2 separate regions of the Homo sapiens genome follow, and region 1 is linked to region 2. The links are contacts of gene promoters, found by promoter capture Hi-C in human tissues and cell types (Jung and others, 2019). All regions are on one chromosome and are shown on one strand. The core of a region is centred on a gene start or on the middle of the fragment in contact, and the rest is flanking DNA. Distances in the headings are between cores, read along the strand shown. Region 1 has its middle 86 kb from the start of CPAP. Region 2 holds the start of ATP12A (ATPase H+/K+ transporting non-gastric alpha2 subunit).

Evidence for each region. The method cuts DNA at HindIII sites, captures the fragments that hold promoters and counts their contacts. A contact is called where the count stands out against the background at its distance.
Region 1: a fragment that was not itself captured here is called in contact with the fragment with the promoter of ATP12A in region 2 in 1 of the 25 tissues and cell types used here (spleen).

What each region holds. Positions count from the first base shown.
Region 1 is chr13:25,007,931-25,010,630 of GRCh38, forward strand. No RefSeq gene overlaps it. Among named protein-coding and RNA genes, the nearest start is that of CPAP, 86 kb to the left of the region's middle. The HindIII fragment of the contact is 4,162 bases long and covers 1-2,700 here.
Region 2 is chr13:24,679,126-24,681,825 of GRCh38, forward strand. It overlaps ATP12A (ATPase H+/K+ transporting non-gastric alpha2 subunit), which reads left to right and starts at 1,283. Exons shown (of 23, transcript NM_001676.7): 1 at 1,283-1,627; 2 at 2,437-2,595. The coding sequence starts at 1,619. RefSeq lists a silencer at 1,331-1,640. The HindIII fragment of the contact is 3,620 bases long and covers 444-2,700 here.

The DNA.
Region 1 (2,700 bases), core at 67-2,566, 330 kb after region 2:
TTTTTAATGATCACCATTCTAACTGGCGTGAGATGGTATCTCATTGTGGTTTTCATTTGCATTTCTCTGATGATGAGCATTTTTTCATCATCATTTTTTCAGTGATGAGCATTTTTTCATGTGTCTGTTGGCTGCATAAATATCTTCTTTTGAGAGGTGTCTGTTCATATCCTTTGCCCACTTTTTGATTGGGTCATTTGATTTTTTTCTTGTAAATTTGTTTAAGTTATTGGTAGATTCTGGATATTAGCCCTTTGTCAGATGGGTAGATTGCAAAACTTTTCTCCCATTCTGTAGGTTGCCTGTTCACTCTGATGATAGTTTCTTTTGCTGTGCAGAAGCTCTTTAGTTTAATTAGATCCCATTTGTCTATTTTAGCTTTTCTTGCCATTGCTTTTGGTGTTTTAGTCATGAAGTCTTTGCCCATGCCTGTGTCCTGAATCGCATTGCCTAGGTTTTCTTCTAGGGTTTTTATGGTTTTAGGTCTTACATTTAAGTCTTTAATCCATCTTGAGTTAATTTTTGTATAAGGTTTAAGGAAGGGATCCAGTTTCAGCTTCCTCATATGGCTAGCCAGTTTTCCCAGCACCATTTATTAAATAGGGAATCCTTTCCCCATTGCTTGTTTTTGTCAGGTTTGTCAAAGATCAGATGGCTGTAGATGTGTGGTGTTATTTCTGAGGCCTCTGTTCTGTTCCATTGGTCTATATATATGTTTTGGTACCAGTACCATGCTGTTTCAGTTACTGTAGCCTTGTAGTGTAGTTTGAAGTCAGGTAGCATGATGCATCCAGCTTTGTTCTTTTTGCTTAGGATTGTCTTGGCTATGCGGTCTCTTTTTTGGTTCCATATGAACTTTAGAGTAGTTTTTTCCAATTCTGTGAAGAAAGTCACTGGTAGCTTGATGAGGATGGCATTGAATCTATAAATTACCTTGGGCAGTATGGCCATTTTCACAATATTGATTCTTCCTACCCATGAGCATAGAATGTTCTTCCATTTGTTTGTGTCCTCTTTTATTTTGTTGAGCAGTGGTTTGTAGTTCTCCTTGAAGAGGTCCTTCACATCACTTGTAAGCTGGATTCCTAGATATTTTATTCACTTTGTAGCAATTGTGAATGGGAGTTCACTCATGATTTGGCTCTCTGTCTGTTATTGGTGTATAGGAATGCTTGTGATTTTTGCACATTGATTTTGTATCCTGAGACTTTGCTGAAGTTGCTTATCAGCTTAAGGAGATTTCGGGCTGAGACGATGGAGTTTTCTAAATATACAATCATGTCATCTGCAAACAGGGACAATTTGACTTCCTCTTTTCCTAATTGAATACCCTTTATTTCTTTCTTTTGCCTGATTGCCCTGGCCAGAACTTCCAACACTATGTTGAACAGGAGGGGTGAGAGAGGGCATTCTTGTCGTGTTCCGGTTTTCAAAGGGAAAGCTTCCAGGTTTGCCCATTCCGTATGATGTTGGCTGTGGGTTTGTCATAAATACCTCTTATTATTTTGAGATATGTTTCATCAATATCTAGTTTATTGAGAGTTTTTAGCATGAAGGGCTGTTGAATTTTGTCGAAGGCCTTTTCTGCATCTATTGAGATAATCATGTGGTTTTTGTTGTTGGTTCTGTTTATGTGATGGATTACGTTTATTGATTTGCATATGTTGAACCAGCCTTGCATCCTAGGGATGAAGCCAACTTGATCATGGTTTATAAGCTTTTTGATGTGCTGCTGGATTCAGTTTGCCAGTATTTTATTGAGGATTTTCACATGGATGTTCATCAGGGATATTGGTCTAAAATTCTCTCTTTTTCTTGTGTCTCTGCCAGGCTTTGGTATCAGGATGATGCTGGCCTCATAAAATGAGTTAGGGAGGATTCCCTCTTTTTCTGTTGATTGGAATAGTTTCAGAAGGAATGGTACCAGCTCCTCTTTGTACCTCTGGTAGAATTCGGCTGTGAATCCTTCTGGTCCTGGACTTTTTTTGGTTGGTAGGCCATTAATTATTGCCTCAATTTCAGAACCTGTTATTGGTCTATTCAGAGATTCAACTTCTTCCTGGTTTAGTCTTGGGAGGGTGTATGTGTCCGGGAATTTATCCATTTCTTCTAGATTTTCTAGTTTATTTGCATAGAGGTGTTTATAGTATTCTCTGATGGTAGTTTATATTTCTGTGGGATCGGTGCTGATATCCCCTTTATCATTTTTTATTGTATCTATTTGATTCTTCTCTCTTGTCTTCTCTATTTGTCTTGCTAACAGTCTATTTTGTGATCTTTTCAAAAAACCAGCTCCTTGATTCATTGATTTTTTGAAGGGTTTTTCGTGTCTCTATCTCTTTCCGTTCTGCTCTGATCTTAGTTATTTCTTGCCTTCTGCTAGCTTTTGAATTTGTTTGCTCTTGCTTCTCTAGTTCTATTAATTGTGATGTTAGGGTGTCAATTTTAGATCTTTCCTGCTTTCTCTTGTGTGCATTTAGTACTATAAATTTCCCTCTATACCCTGCTTTGAATGTGTCCCAGAGATACTGGTATGTTGCGTCTTTGTTCTCATTGGTTTCGAAGAACATCTTTATTTCTGCCTTCATTTCATTATTTACCCAGCAGTCATTCAGGAGCTGGTTGTGATTGGCAGGTTTTAACTGGACGTTTGAAACTCATTTTTATGGAGAACAACGAACTTGGAGGGGAAAACAATCC
Region 2 (2,700 bases), core at 33-2,532:
TGTTTTCTGCCAGATGTTCTAGTCACTGCATGATGGGATTGTTACTTTTGCTGCTTCTCTGGACTCCTCACTCTTAGTCATTTTAAATATGGTCAAAATGACAATCTTTCTTACCATATTTGATATATAACTTTCAAAAAGAATAAAACTTAGCACCCTCCTATTAGTCCTTATCTAAATGGAAACTTATTAGCAGAGCATCAAGGGCCCAATAAAGTGCCCCCTCTTTTGAAACTTATCTCTACTCCCTTTCATATATTTCAATCATGTCAATTTCTTATTGTTCTTCTAAATAGGTGCTGATTACTAAACTCTATTCGTGGGTTTTATTTTTTATGTTCCTCTCCATTAATTAATATTCTTCACTGACTTTAAGACTTCACGATTCATTCTTTTAAAAGAACGTGTTTGATTTCCTCCACTGTTAACTGCTAAATATCTCTCTGATATATTGTTTTCAGGCTATCTTTCTCATCTGGAGTAATTATGTTTCAAGTGTCAGGGGGAAAATACCTTTTCTATCCTGTGCAAAAACTCATGCTGGGCACTAAGAGCATGGAGCATGTCCCAGTTATCTATTGCTGCATAACAAACCAACCCAAACTTAGCAGTATAAAACAACCACTGCTTTAGTATGCACATCAACTTTCAGGGTCAGAAATTCTTTTCTCCTTCATGTATAGAGTCTCAGCTGGGAGTGACATAAATAGGTGGAGACAGACCTCTCCAGCCCAGTCCAGCCAACAGCCTCCGCTCCTGCGCACCCGCAGCCTGGGGCCCCAGGTTCCTGTGGTCTCACCGACCCTAATCCTCTCATCTCTCCTCCCCATTCCCTCTCCAAATTGTTTCAGAATTCCAAATTCTTATCTGGATCCGGCAAATTAATTCAGCTACTCTTCAGAGTCTCTCAGTTATTCCCAAATTCTCTCGGAAGCTTGAATTTACCTATCTAAATCCATTCTCAAAAACACATTGGCCTTTTCTAGCCGGGACATCTCCAACAGTAGTTGCTGTTAGAAACTGCAATTTCCCCTTCTCTGCATACACATTTTTATAAATTGATTTATTGGTAGGCAAATTACATTTTTAAAAAAAGGCATGTGTGGGTTTTCAGGGAAGCCTGGACAGGACGTGGGCGTGCCGGGAGCTCGCCGGAGCAGCTGGTCCGGCTCTGGGCGCCCAGCGGAACCAGGGCTGTACTCACCTGGATGCCGGACCCGCCCCCTAGAGACCCCGCCCCCTGGCGTTCGGCTACTAAAGGGAAGGGGATTCCCAGGGGGTCCTCAATCCTGGACTCTCCCGACCCCTAGCTGTCGGTCCCCCTCCCTGCGCGCGCGCCGGCGGGTTTCCTACCCTCCGAGGCGTCCGCTGGCCTGCGCCCTGGCGGGGACGTGGGCGGGGCGGGCGGCATTTAAGGCTGGTGCCACCTCCCCGGTGCAGCGGCTGGCGATCGGCCGCGGAGGTGCGTGCAGGGCCCGCGCCGCCGCCGGTATCTCCACCGCCAACACCTCAGCCACTGCCACTGCCACAGCCACACGAGGCCCCCCACCGTGCGCTCCGCCGCTGCGGTCCCGGATCCGCGCTCCACGCCCGCAGCCCGCGGCGCCACCAGCCCAGCATGCACCAGGTGCGTGCAGCCCCCGCGCCGGCCGAGGATGCGAGACGCTGGGCCAAGGCCCCGGGGACCGGAGCAGGCTGACGGGAAGCGAGGAAAAGGCGAAGAGGAGAAACGCCCCGTCCCGGGGCAAGGGGAGGCCGCCTTTCCTCTGAGCGCCCCCCGGCCTGGGCACCGCTTCTCTGACTCCCCGCCACGGCTCCGTGCGGCCGCCGGGGCTGGCTGGGGAAAGAAGCCAGTCCAGAGGAGCGAGAAGGGGCCAAGGGGTCCTAGGCCAGCTCCATGGCACCTGCGGGCTCCGACTCGGAGGATGGGGTGACATGGATTCGTTGCGGTCTGAAAAGACTTCCGGTTAGGGCCCCCTGATCAGGACTGAGGGTCGTAAGCTTAGTGGGTGCCTCCTCCCCAAGAAACAGGACGCACAGCTGTTGTGTCCCCTGGGAAGGACACCTCAGAGGAAACCTCGAGGTGCCTAAGGAACCTCGAGGTTCTAAGGAAACCTCACAGCTCCTTGGAGGCATCAGTCAGGAGTTGGGGGGGTAACTTCCCACCTGCTCCACCCAGAGAAGGGTCACCCTGAGGAGCTGCTGGCTGGCCTGTGCCCACCCCGCCTCCCCTCTACACGGACGGAGAGGAAGCCAAGGTCGGCGGGAGGTGGGGGAGAGACTCCACTGTCCGACTCCCTCCGGCCTCCCCAGAGGAGGGAAGGAAAGGGAGAAGGGGCTCCTGACTCCTGCAGGTCCTGACCCCGCAGAGGGGCGCTCAGCACCTCTTCGGAAACCCCATTTGGGGCCAATATTGCACCTGGGCTTCTCTTTCAGAAAACCCCAGAAATTTACTCCGTGGAGCTCAGCGGAACTAAGGACATCGTGAAAACAGACAAGGGGGATGGCAAGGAGAAGTATAGGGGTCTGAAGAACAACTGCCTGGAACTCAAAAAGAAAAATCACAAAGAGGAGTTTCAGAAAGAACTCCATCTGGTCAGTAGCCTTAAGCCACGGGGTCCTGCCGGCTATGGCCCTTCCCCGCAAGAGCTTGCCCCTAGAACCCACCTCTTACCACAGACATTCAGTCTGAGGGATTTG